2 separate regions of the Homo sapiens genome follow, and region 2 is linked to region 1. Evidence: promoter capture Hi-C in human tissues and cell types (Jung and others, 2019). All regions are on one chromosome and are shown on one strand. Each heading gives the region's core, a stretch centred on a gene start or on the middle of the fragment in contact. The rest is flanking DNA. Distances are from core to core; before and after follow the strand shown. Region 1 holds the start of MRO (maestro). Region 2 overlaps ELAC1 (elaC ribonuclease Z 1).

Evidence for each region. Contacts are between HindIII fragments. The study calls those that stand out against the background at their distance.
Region 2: a fragment that was not itself captured here is called in contact with the fragment with the promoter of MRO in region 1 in 1 of the 25 tissues and cell types used here (H1 embryonic stem cells).

The regions. Positions count from the first base shown.
Region 1 is chr18:50,815,152-50,822,211 of GRCh38, reverse strand. MRO (maestro) reads left to right here and starts at 2,196. Exons shown (of 8, transcript NM_031939.6): 1 at 2,196-2,315; 2 at 2,510-2,631. It also overlaps the pseudogene HNRNPA3P16. RefSeq lists enhancers at 1,992-2,041, 1,878-2,511. The HindIII fragment of the contact is 21,582 bases long and covers 1-7,060 here.
Region 2 is chr18:50,984,841-50,991,787 of GRCh38, reverse strand. ELAC1 (elaC ribonuclease Z 1) reads right to left here. Exons shown (of 4, transcript NM_018696.3): 4 at 3,667-5,169. The coding sequence ends at 4,703. The region is part of intron 1 of LOC107985152 (a long non-coding RNA gene); the gene reads left to right. Among named protein-coding and RNA genes, the nearest start is that of ELAC1, 20 kb to the right of the region's middle. The HindIII fragment of the contact is 4,113 bases long and covers 1,181-5,293 here.

The sequences.
Region 1 (7,060 bases), core at 947-3,446:
CTCTTTGCTTTTTCCAGTTGTGCCAGCCCCAGTGTACTTCTGGCAATAAGGAAATGTTAATTGAGAATGAAAATAGAGTCATTAAATCCTTACATTAAATAATTATGGTGTGTTCTTTTAAGGACATCATGTTATAGATATGCAAATATGTTGCAATCAAATTATCAAACTTGCCCTCTAATTTCCAAAGAACTGTACTGTGACCCAGGGCCACATAAGGAGAATCTTAGACTCTTGTGGGCATCATGCGTTGATTTTGATGCTTCCCAAGTTTGTGCTGTGTCTGGGATTCTCTAGGGGCAGTTAGCTGCATCCAGGCCGTTTATGAGAAGTGTTTAGTAGAGCTGAGGTCAGCACAGTGCAAGTATCAGAAAGGCTCCTGGATATCAATTCCAGTTCTGGCCCTGATGTTCTTTGTAGTTTTAAGTCAAACAGGAAAATTTATCTGCATATTAGTTCTCCTATTTAACAGTAGAGAAGATACTATTTCTCTGTCAAATATCTTAAAACATGAATACAAAGAAACTTTAGACACAAGGGGTTATTAATAGTTTGTTGTGTTTCTGTTCATGGGGAGGAGGGGATGTAAATTTCAGTTCTGATTCACAAAGGAGATTTTGCAGAGAATCTTTACAATCATACTTTGGGCTTCCTTTCTCCAGTCTCCTCTGTTCTTCGGATAATCTTATTACCTTTTTGGTCATTCTAAGCACTACATGGATTAGTTCAGTATATAGATTATGGCCGTATAAACCTCATTCTCGCTCTTGGCAGATAACCTAACTCTGGTTTTACTGAAAAGATTAAAGCTAATTTGGAAGAATTGAACTCGCCCATTCCTCTCAGTTTTGTGTTGATGTATCTTCATCTCTGTGGCTGCCTCCCAGTTGCAGGCAGAGGCAGCCATCTTTCTTCCTCCTCCAGAGCTAACCCTTTCCCTCGTGCCCTTGATGCCCCCTCCACCTCTTCCTATTACCACTACTTGGCACCAGCCACATATTAGGGCTCCCTTGCAACCACTTTCAAACAAGGCCAGGCTTTATTCCATTTCAAAAAGCACACAAGAAAACCAAAATGCTTTTGCCTGACCTTGCTGTCTCTTCTAGTCTATTTATTGCTTTCCTTTTGCAGCAAGACATCTCAATTTCCTCTTTCCTCATAGCCCCTTAGTTTTGCAGTCTAGCTTCCTTTCTCTGTCACTCTATTGAAATTGTGTCCTCAAATGTCACAGTGGTTCCCTTGTAACTTAATCTGAAGAGGGTGGTGTTTTAGCCTCATTCTTCTTATTTTCTCAGCAGCATCGATTTTCTTTCTGCCTTTTTCTTTCATCTTCCACTCTGACATAGTTCTCTGGTTTATATTTTTCTGTTTATCTCCTGGGTTTTCTAGACCAGTCCAGTGCATAGCATCATGGCTGAGTCCAAGCTCTTACATTAGCCTGCCTGTAGCTGAATTTTAACTGCCACAAATTAACTGCATGACCTTTGTCAAGGTAATCTCCCTGTGCCTCAGTTTCTCCAGCCTTAAAATGGAGACTATAGTAGGAGTATTAACCTTTGGTTTGATGTAACAATTGAATGAGATAGTCTATGTAATATTTATCACAACATTTGGCACACAGAAGTTTTAATTGAATGTTATCTATTAGCATAACAATAAGTGCCTCTGTCTTTGAAAATATAACTGTTCTTTTTTCCTTTCAGGACATATTTTCTCCCTTTATGACCCAATGCAGAGCGAGACGATAACTAATTATTGTTAAATAGATTTATGCACGTGTTTGGAGAGTCAGGGAAGGAGGGCTGATGAGAGAGAGAGGCTCCTAAATTCTGCAGGTGCTGTAATTCCCCGGTTTTAATTTTGCTTTGCTTTTTACCAATAAATCATTTTGAGAGCTTAAATCGCTCCTTTCGGGACATACGGTGTTTCTTGAGCAGGAAGGGACGTCAACGGTTAAAGCTCTTGTTGTTGGTGCAACAATCAGCCACGATGAGGCTGCTTGGCATGGAACACAGTGTCCCATCCTTAGATTAAATGCGCTCTAACAGGATTATGTAAGGAAGGAGGCAGCCACGGCGGCGGCTTTGTGCAGGGGTCGCCTGGAACCCGTCCATTGAGTCATGCCGCCATCTCGCGGCCGCATGGGGAACGGGCCTTGGCAGGGAGGTTTTGTTTGGTGCAGAGGAAAGGTCCCCAGAATTGCCATCTGCAGAATTTCTGCAGAAAGTGTCGACCAGGCTGGCATGAGGGAAGAAGGAGGGGAAATCACAGCAAGGAGAAGGAAAAACACCTCAGCATGGCGTGGGGAAGCAAAGGTAGCAAGTCATGCTTGTGCCACCCTACAATATTCTTGTCGGTTTCATTCCAGAACAATTCCCTCCCCTGCCCAAATACTCTATAAACTTTGACTTTCCCCTCTTATTTGATTCTCACTTTCCAACACTCTGTGCCGACCCGTTATCCTGGACAGACCCTGCGTCACCTCCTAATTTCCCTTCTTGTATGTTAGGAATTCAGGGCTGGGAAAATTTAGCCGAGTCATCACATTTGGCTACTACCCGGGAAAGCAGCCCTCCCGAGTCAGGAACGGGCTCCGGTTCATCACGTGGCAGCCGCCTGCAGGAGCCGCAGGTAAGGGACACTGTTGGCCGGGGCAGCCAGATGCAGCGGGAGGCGTCCTGGCTGCACTTGGGTTCCCAAAACCTTTCTGGAATGTCACTCTGGTCACCAGTATGGGAGCTCGACCTCTAGGGGGTAGGATTTGGTAATGTTCTCTTTGTAAAACTGAAGTGGGCAATGTTGACCAGGAAGCTGATTTTGTTTGCTTTTCACAAACTATGTTAATCGATCAATAGTTGGGTTATAGATCATTCTATTGTCAGCAATATAATAGAATGGCAGGGACTCAGGGAAGATATTGACACTTTAAACTGAAATGTCTATGCGGTCTGTCTTCCCTCGTTCAGCTCACAGGACATTGCCTGGGAGCTGAACCTAGGCTTATAGCACAGTGACTGAAAGGATATCTTTCAGAGTCCTAAAATCTGCTCTGCCAGTATTTGACTTTGAGTTAATTGTTCAACATTACTTTAAGCCCAGTTTCTTCTTTTCTAAAATGAAGACGATTTTTTTAATATTAATTTTTTTTTTCATTTTTTTGAGACAGGGTCTTGTTGTGTTGCCCAAGCTGGGGTGCGGTGGCCCGATCTCGGCTCACTGCAACCTCTGTCTCCTGGGTTCAAGTGATTCTTCTGCCTCAGCCTCCTGAGTAGCTGGGACTACAGGTGTGCACCACCATGTCTGGCTAATTTTTGTATTTTTAGTAGAGGCGGGGTTTCACCATGTTGCTCAGGCTGGTCTTGATCTCCTGACCTCAAGCAATCTGCCTGCCTCAGCCTCCCAAAATGCTGGGATTTATAGGCATGAGCCACCACACGCAGCCTACTATTGTCATTTATAAGTTCAGTGTTGGAAGGATTTTTAAGCAATCTAACAGTTTCTTCTGCTCATTTTACAGATGAGATAAAATCAAAGTGTTTTATAATTTTGGCCTTCATAATATACCTTTTGGCTTCAATAAATAAAAGGATTATTGACCAAAAATCTAATATTTTGAGTCAGAATCATTCAAGTTTGCAAAAGCAGATGGGAGTCAGTGTAAAGCATAAAACAGTCTTCTAAGTTACCCCAAATCCATGTATCTTCAGTAAGATCAGGTAGAGCACAACCTGGCAATGAACACAAGCCCCAGCCGGGGTCTTGGGGTTCGTGAAAACCAAGGGGTCTGCACATAGCTCACTCAGGGGTATGTTCCAGAGGAAGAAGAATTCGTTGAAGAACGTGTGCAGAGATGAGTAAAACTATAAGCAGAGCTGTGTCTTTGGCTTCCAAATGGCCAGGTGACCTCCTGGTCTTGGTCATACAAGGCTAGGCATATGTGGTGACCATAGAAACCCACCAGAAAATGTAATTCTCCTAGGAAAGAATGCCTGTCTTACGGGTGAGAGGGCTTGGAGAAGGAGTTAGAACATCCTAAGAAATCTTGGAATCTGTATACTACGTTCATTCACAGTGTGTTTAAAACGATCCTCTCTGAGATCCTGTGTTGCAACAGATGAGAATGATCCTTTTGTTTTTGTTGGATTGGGTGTAAAGGACTTCATGTTTTAGAAAGGAGGGAGGCACTGCAGGCAGGAAGGAGGGCATGGGGCGGGGGGTGGGAGTTCTTTAAGAAGCTGCAAGTACAAGAAACACAAGGCTCCAGCGAGGGGCCTTGTGACCTTGATTTAACTCCTAATTTGTTTTATTTTTTAATGAAACTTTTAACTGAAGAATAGCATCCTAGAAAAGTTGCATAAATCATAGACAAACAGCTGCTGTGATTTTAATTTTATTTTTAAAGTGAAATTCAAAGTGCTTCACAAACATATGGTATCAATCTCTTGTTCTCTGCAAAGACACTGACCTCTTTCTCTTTCTCATCCCTCGGCCCCAGCTCCCTCCCTGACTTCCATGGTTTCTGCTACTGCATGGGCTCGGATTAGCTTTATTTAATTTCCAGGATAGAGGTTCTTCTATACCAACAGGCGTGTAGCATCACCAGGCACCACATACAAAAAGTGCAATGCTCAGGCCCGACACTCCCTGAGATTCAGATCCAATAATTCTGGGGCAGGCCTGGAGTTTATTGTTATTATTATTATTTATTTTTATTTTTTAGAGACAGGATCTTGCTCTGTCAACCCAGCTGGAGTGCAGTGGCGCAATCATGGCTTACGGCAGCCTCAGACTCCTGGGCTCAAGGGATGCTCAGCCTCCCAAAGTGCTGGGATTACAGGTGTGAGCCACTGCACCCACCTCTGGCTTGGAGTTTGTAACACGTACCCCGGGGAATTCTGATATAGAAGGTGCAACCAACACTGAGAAATGCTCTACTTTTCCTGCACCCAAGATTGAGATGATCCCTGACAACCTGTAAGATTAAACCACATCACAGTTTTTCTCTTGTGATGGGGAGGTAGGGTTTGCTAGAAGAGGTAGTGAGCTCAAGATGTAACTCTGTGAGTTTCTCTAATCACAGATCGAATCTTCCAGGTGGAGCCACTCAGTTCTCATTTACTTTGCCGTGCATGGGAGCATGACCTTGAGTTCTACTTACGCCTATGAAGGCGATGCTGGCTGCTTGGTTTCTGAAGCCTGGGGAAGTTGCCTTGGCTGGCTAAAGCCCTTAGCTGTTATGCTAATCTTGCAAGAGAAGTCAAGCAGAAAGAACAGGGTAGCAGGTTTGTTTTCTTTACCAATGGAAAGGAGCTTCAGGCATGATTTTCTTATGCCTTGGAACAGAGATACCAGCTGTTTTATAATGAGGCCCACACCCTCCTTGGTGAGTGGGCCCTCAGCTTGAGGGAGTTTTGCTTCTTTTATTTTGATTTTGAAATTTGAGATTTTTTCATTTGAAGGTAATCTTAATGCTATTAAATTCATAAATATGCTAATTTAAATACCCAATCCTATTTATTTAAAATAGACGTTGCAAGCGTACAAATATTCTCTCCACATGTCAGCACCCATTTAGATCATGGTTTGGAAATGGGGAGAATAGAATTCCCTTAAACTGCAAGTCAGCTGGTGTTTCTTTACAGCTAACGTTAGCAAAATTTATGCAAAGCAGTAATTCACAATGATCTTCTTTATTTGTTAACCCACAAGGAAACACCCTCAAAACTATTCTGTTAAAGTGTCTGTTCAGAAATGTGGAAAAACTGAACTATATAAATATTGAAAAGTTAAAAATTCCTTAATTTTTTATTCTTGGAACCACTACCACAATTTACAGGGCAATATACCTGATGTAATGAAAAGAAAAAGAAAAAGAAAAAGCTATAGCAGATAAAAGACCATAGGGATGTTCATCTAGCCAATGCTACATTGCATTATCAATAGCTGCACTTTTTGCAAACTGTGGCTATGACAGTCCTGAACAAGAAAGGTTTTCTGTTTAAGCTGCAGTAACTTTTCTAACTATGTATCATCGTTTCTTCCGTGGCAGATTTTTAGTTCCTAATGCATTTGGGACAACTGTTTCAAGGTAACTTGCTGCTTTCCCAAAACTTCTTGTTCTTTCTCCTGCTAAGAACTGTATCCCTTTTCTGCTGTTTTTATTTTTTTATTTTTTTTGGAGACAGAGTCTCACTCTACCCCCCATGCTGGAGTGCAGGGGCATGATCTTGGCTCATTGCAACCTCTGCCTCCCGGGTTCAAGCGATTCTCGTGCCTCAGCCTCCCAAGTAGCTGGGATTACAGGCACCCGCCACCATGCCCAGCTAATTTTTGTATTTTTAGTAGAGACGGGGTTTCACCATGTTGACCAGACTGGTCTCGAACTCCTGACCTCAGGTGATCTGCTCACCTCGGCTTCCCAAAGTGCTGGGATTACAGGTGTGAGCCACCGTGCCCAGCCTTCTTTTCTGCTGTTTTTAGAACCTTCTGTTACCATATCCACCATTTCCACTACCAGATCCATAACGGTCACCACAGGGACTGCCTGAACTTCTTCCACCAAAACTGCCCCCTTTCATGCATTCATAATTTGATCGCTGTTTCCAAGATCATTATAGTTTCCACCACCACCATAGTTACCACCACCAAAATTTCAATGTAACCATCATATCATCCACCACTGCCACCATATCCACTACCTTGGTTTCCATATCCTGGTCCACCACCACCACGGCCCCCTCTACTATTACGACCAGGATCACCACCCATAGTGGCTACCATCACCTCCAAATCCATTCTATCCACTGTCATCTCCTGCATAACTGTCTCTGCTACCATCACCTTCACCACCATAGCCTCCTTTCCACCAAAGTTCCCACCACGGCAAAAATTATCTCCACCACCTCCAAAGTTTCCTCCATGACCAGCCAAGTTGCCAGATCCACTTCCATGACCTCTTTATGACCTGGTAGACTCCATCTCATTTAGAAAGGACACTTTTTACTTCACAATTATGCCCATTAATGGCGTGGTATATCTGAATAACAATTTCATCATTTGT
Region 2 (6,947 bases), core at 1,988-4,487, 170 kb before region 1:
AGTTGGCATAAGAGTATTCAAGGAAATCACAATATGTCCTACTTGCAAGACATAACAAAGTTATTTGCACTGGGAGGTGAAAATAATCTTCATAGGACTAATGTCTTGGGGAAGAAGCGTTAGCAAGGTCATGAGCTGATGATACTCCGTATCATCTCCAGATAGAATACCAAGACAGGCCACTCCTATTCACTGCTGCTAGGAGTGTAAAAGAGCATGGAAACCAGTGGGCAATTCCTACCCAGAACCTCCAAAAAGAAGTCAGATTTTCACCCTCAGAGAAATCAATTCTAAGGAAGGAAATACTCAGAGATACAAGGATTTATGCATAAGAATATTCATGATAGTATTATTTATAATAACGGAAAACAATCTCACTGCCTCCAAATAAAAAAACGGTTAAGTGATACTGTATCTATAGAATGCAATAATAGAAAATCATTAAATTCATGCTTTCAGAGAACACTTAATGCCGTGGGGAAATCCTCATAATATGCTAAATGAGAAAAACAGTTGAGGTCAGCCTACATGTAAAAATATACAGGTGTACATGTGTATAATATACACACATACCAACATAGGTAGAAGCACATACAAAATATCTAAACACACGCAAAACTTTTAAAACGCATAGAATAGACAGTTTTTTTCTCCCAATATGGTCTGCCACTCATATACCTCAGAATCACCTTGGGGGCTTATTAAAAATGCAAATTCTTGGGTATTACCCCAGACGTTTGAAAACAGAGCCTAAGTCTTTGAAAACAGAGCCTAAGGATCGCTGTCTACCTACACACCCTGAGTAATTCTCACCCACCCCTCAGTTTGGGGACCACTGGATCAGAAATAACAGCTCTCTGTGGGTGAAGGAATTACGAATAATTGTCTTCTTTTATTGCATCTTAAAAAAATTCTCTACCAAACATACGCTGCTTTTATAATTCAAAGTTCATTAAAAGTGCATTAATGAGGCATGAGTATTAAACAGAGCTGATTTAGGGTCTATCTGGGCAAGTGTAAACAACTTTGGAGAATTAGAACATGCACTTCTTTTTTCTTGCGACGGAGTCTTGCTCTTTCACCCAGGCAGTGCAGTGGTGTGATCTCGGCTCACTACAACCTCCGCCTCCTAGGTTCAAGCGATTCTTCTGCCTCAACCTCCCGAGTAGCTGGGATTATAGGTGCCCGCCACCATGCCCAGCTAATTTTTGTAGAGATGGGGTTTCACCACGTTGGCCAGGCTGGTCTCAAACTCCTGACCTCAAGTGATCCGCCCACCTCGGCCTCCCAAAGTGCTGGGATTACAGGTGAACCATGGTGCCTGGCCACAAGTGTGCATTTTTTAAAATCTAAAATACAGAATGAGACTCTGTCTCAAATAATAATAATAATAATAATAAAATAAAATCTAAAATAAGTAGGTATGTATGGATTCCTTACAATTGAGTCAGTTTAGGACAAAGGAAGTAATACATTAAGTGTAGACATGGAAATCATGAGCTCAATAAATTCTGCAGGTAAAAAACATAAATAGAATAATTTTGCAACGTATGGAGAATGGCATTTCTAAAGTTCCAAGATCTTCCTTGGCAAAAAGAGGATTCAGTAATCAAATAAATTTGGGACACAATACATAATATGGTCACCCTCCCCACTTAAGAGTCAAATCCTTGGGTAGATTACAGGTTCCGAGAAGTCCAATATAAACTTCTTTCTTAATTCTAGCTCCACAAATTCTTAGAATGTCTCTATCACTGAAAACAAATTCTAGCCCAGAAGAGGGTCTAGAAAAAGTTCTCATCATGGACTGATACTCTACACTTGACCCAACATATCGTTTCCACATTCCCATGGCCTCTGAGGGCTTAGCCCATATGTATTTATAGAGCCTGATTCTAAGGGCATGGCTCAAGTCAGCTACCAAGTAATGCTCAGGAACAGCAAAATTCGAGTGCCCAGGATACAAGATTAGAACATGTGAAGCAACTACAGATTTACTTTTTATCTACTGGTCTCTTTCACTAGGCTGTGTGCTTAGGGCTGGAATTTTGCCATTTGTCTATTCATTTATGTACTACCAACACAATAAAGTCTGGCACTTACTTAGTACTCAGTGAATGGGGCACCACCAAAGAGGTGGTGTAAATTCTTTCCGGTAAGTTCAGTAATGAAATGGGCTAGTTTCATTACCATGCACCACCACACCTAGCTAATCTTTGTAATTTTAGTAGAGACGGGGGTTTAGCCACGTTGCCCAGGCTGGTCTCGAACTCCTGACCTCAAGCAATCCATCCACCTTGGCCTCCCCAAGTGCTGGGATTACAGGTGTGAGCCACTGCCCCTGGCCAAGATGGAGTCTTGCTATGTCTCTATGGACTTGAACCCCTGGACTCAAGTGATCCTCTCACCTCAGCCTCCTGAGTAGGTGGCACTACAGGCACACACCACTGCACTCAGCTCTAGGTGGACATTTCTAAGGATGTGGCAGTGACTAAGACATAATAATCTCTATCCTCAGGGGCTTCATGCATTAGAGATACTCATCTGAGCCATTCTAGTCCTAGAGTCCTAGCCTCTTGCACAAGTTTAGGTACATTAGATGTCTAATTAATGCTTATTTGAATTGAATTTAGAAACCATGGCATGCTTTATGCATGATCAAAATTTGGCACTTTTTGCGGGCAGAGTCTATAGTAAGACAGACCATTCTAGAGACTGCATCAGAATGATCATATCTTAAGTAACCAGACCTATTTTGATCATTGTTTTTTGCTTTTTTTTTTTTTTTTTTTTTTGAGAGAGGGTCTTGCTCTGTTGCTCAGGCTGGAGTGCAATAGCATGATCATGGCTTACTGCAGCCTCAACCGCCCCAGGCTCCCACCTTGGCCTCCTGAGTAGCTGGACCACAGGCACACCACCATGCCTGGCTAAGTTTTGTATTTTTTGTAATGATGGGGTTTCACCATGTTGTGCAGGCTGGTCTGGAACTCCTGGGCTCAAGCAATCCGCCTGCCTTGGCCTCCAAATGCTGGGATTACAGGCATGAGCCACTGCCCCCAGCCAATCATCACTACTTTGGAGTCTCCACAACTAGCCAGGAGTCAAAAAATTTGGCCAGAGAAGCCCCAGAACCCAGAGGAAATTGAACAGTAAGTACTACAACAGTGTTTCTAAATATGTGTGCTGTAAAGCTCTCTAGGTTCCTGAGATGTTAACAGGTAGTACCTGGTGAAATAGGACTGAGAAAGGGGTTCAACAGAGCTGACAGGCCTCTGTACTGCAGGATTTCTCAACACCTTCAAGCAATGTGCTATGCTCCTTATATATGTTGTCTTGTTTAACAATCTATGACATAGGTCTTACTGTTTTTCCCATTTTTGAAATGAACAAGCTGAAGAAACTCAGAGAGTGGGTTACCTGCTCCAGACCACACAGAGGTACTACCACATATCAGAGAATGGGACTCTGGGATCAGGTCTTTCTGGCATCAAACACTGGTTTATGATCATTTGAAGCAATACTGTTTTTAGTATGTTGATGGACACTACACCACTCCTAGGAGGACAGACAGCAATAATGTGTTTCCCAAACTGATTTGACTGAGGAGCTCCTCTGAGTGAATCAGCACTGAAGGCTAGCTTTCCATGGAGCATGTTTTAAGAAACATTGTGGGGCAAATAACGTTTATTAATAGGGACACGTCAATGAAACCTCAGTTTAACAGATAAGCATTTTTTACCTCCAGGTTCATAAGCTTCACTTAATGGCTCATTTCTTTTGAATGTTATTTGGTATGACACTGCAATTCTAACACATTCACTCTTTAGGATTTGACTTACCTAGTAATTCCACTCATTATGTCACTAATTTTGGTAAACTATATTCACATCAAGAGTATAAACTAACTTGCTGTGTATCTCAATGGGCCTGCAATTTGCATTTCGGGGTGAGATGATTCTTTATTGTATATGACTGACCAAAACTTTGCAGGACAGCTAACATCCCTTATCCCTGCTGACTAAATACCAGTAGTAGTAGTACCACCACTACCACCACCGTACTCAGTCACTGTGACAAGAAAACATACCCATAATTTCAAACCTGCTTCTAGAGGAGCAGTGTCACCCCAGCTGAGAACCATGGGTTAAGACCCAAATAGAAAGTTTAATAAAATGTTAAAATAAACACCTAGCCAAACCCTGCATTCAGTATTCCAGCAAAGCTATGGTCATGCTATCATCAATCCTGCCTGTCCAACGTCTCATGACATTTCTCCCTCTTCTGTTAATAACACAAACAGATTCAATACAAACTGCCAAAATACCATTTTTAGCCACGAGGGCTGAGTCCTGTGCTCTTTGCCAATAGCAGCAATAAAGCTGGGCAGAAGCTAAGCCCAGGACTGCATGGAATATTGGCTATCTGTGGTAGTAGCACAAAATAAGATGTATAACTGAATAGTCTATCATTTTGACAAATCTGGACTTCAAAAAGGATGCTGGGTTTTTTTTCTCTTAAAAAGATTTATTATCAAAAAGTTTGCTCCCTTTAAATACTGAGCCAATTCATCAATGCAGCTCCATTCTTTTTAGGATTATTAGGGCCCAAATAATTTCAGACTAAAACAAGAAATAAAAAAACTGGACTATAGGTTCAGTAACATATTCACAGACATGTCAGTGTGCACTCAGGAACACTGGTTTCATTTCTTGATTGGAATGCTTATCACCATAAAATCTTCTGCTAGAGTCACTTCTTGGAGATCTAACACTGATTCAGCTTGCTTTTTTAGTTCTGCAATGCCATCTGTTTCTCCTTCTCTGGCCAAGGCAACTGGTTTGTACCTCTGACTGAAGTGAGTCAGAACCAGCCTCTTTGCACGGCACAACTTTGCAAATGTTGCTGCCATCTGTGGTGTGCTGTGGCCATGCTCCTTTGCTTTGTCCATCTGGGCATCATCCAGGGTTGCTTCGTGGATCAACAGGTCTGCTTCAAAGCACAGTTTTACTCCTCCATCACCCACAACCCCAGAGCAGTCACCCAATATGCAGATTTTTCTTCCAACAATAGGCTTTTTTAAGACATCTTGGGGAGAAATTGTAACCCCATTTTCCAGAACAACAGAAATTCCATTTTTCAGCTTCCCATAGGCAGGACCTGGTGGAACACCTAATGATGAAGGCAGATAACATTACATCATAGGAATGGAATTTATGACTTTTCAAGAGTCTATTTTAACAGCATTGCAAATAGCTAATGGAAAAGGCATCCATAATTGTTATAAATGTTTTACTACTTGTGGAAAACTGGATTTATACATTTTTAAAATTTCAGTGTTGATTGATATTAGCAATGCCTTAGTACTTGAAACATTTCCCATGCATACATGTCAGACAAGTTTTAGTCTCCTAAGTATCACTAGGACCTTATTGTAGTCACTGTAACATTCTTGATTCTCTGCTGTGCACAGAAACAACAGTTTTTGAGAGTGCTTTATTTAATAAGCTCACCTTTGGGTAAAATTTGAGAGTGTATTTAAATAGTGATATAGTCAGGCTGGGTGCACTGGCTCATGCCTGTAATCCTAGCATTGTGCGAGGCCGAGGCAGGTGCAGTGGTGCACACCTGTAGTCCCAGCTATATGGGAGGCCAAGGCACAAGAATTGCTTTAACCCAGGGGGCAGAAGTTGCAGTGAGCGAGCTGAGATCACACCACTGCACTCCAGCCTGGACAACAGAGTGAGACTGCCTCAAAAAAAAAAAAAAAAAAAAAAAAGATATAATCAACACCTAGTCAAAACAAGTACCTACAAAGTAACTTAATAAAAAAATTGTTAGCAGGATTGTTTGTATTACAAGATCAAGGAGCATTTTTTCAGGCAATTGTACATTATTAGTCTTCTTGGCAGACAGGGGCAGTTCCACATTTATCAAAGTGGGCTTAAATCTCGTATTAATTTAAAGTAAGACCTGATCATCACTATGGACAATACTTACAAACTAGTATAGTATGACCACCAATTCCAACACAGATCATGTTTAAAGTTTCCAAATATAATAGTATTTCCACAGGCTTTCAGGTAATAAAAATATCCTTGGCCTAAGTCACTTTTCCTCATTATCTAGCATTTTGTTTTAGTTGAGGAAGAGATCACATAAATAAAAAAACAAACACACACAAAATGCCACTGTGCTTTTTACAGGCACTGCCACAGCATGCCTGTGAAGGCAGTGACACTGGAGATATAATGTACCTGGACTCTACCTCACAAGAGGTGCTGAAAAGATCCCCTCATGCATGCTGGCTTAGCGCTTAGCATAGAGGAGGTGTGAAGCCTTAGATGGGCCCCAAGCCCACCTCTGTATGCTTGCTTTCAACTACGATGAACCCTGATATCTAAAACTGGTTGAGGCACAGGGTTTTGAATACCAAATTAATTTAATCAAGGTTAAATTAGTAAGCAAAGTAGATACAGAAGTAAACTCTGAAAGCACATGGTTGCAGTTGTAAGGTTAAGAACGATGGCAAAAATTCTCAGACCGAAGATGTCATCAAAAACACGTATCAAAGGGAAGACATGAAAAAATAAAGCCTGGACCTAAAACCACCACCACTACCACCCAAATCACCTTGCCAACCAAGATAGTATAAGGTGAAGACAGACTAAGAATGTGGATCCAGGGAGATGAAGACAGGATTCAAATGTATACTTGGGTTTTGCTCTAAATAGCATTTTTTGGCCCCATGGATTTTCCTTAATAAGCAAACTTTGGACAAAGGGACTAAGTGGAGAAATTGTCAGTTTCAGGCCTGGGATAGAGGAGTGGAAGCTTACTATGACACTTTTTTTTTTTTGAGACAGAGTTTCGCTTTGTCACCCAAGCTGGAGTATAGTAACACTATCTTGGCTTACTGCAGCCTTGACCTCCCAGGTTCAAGTGATCCT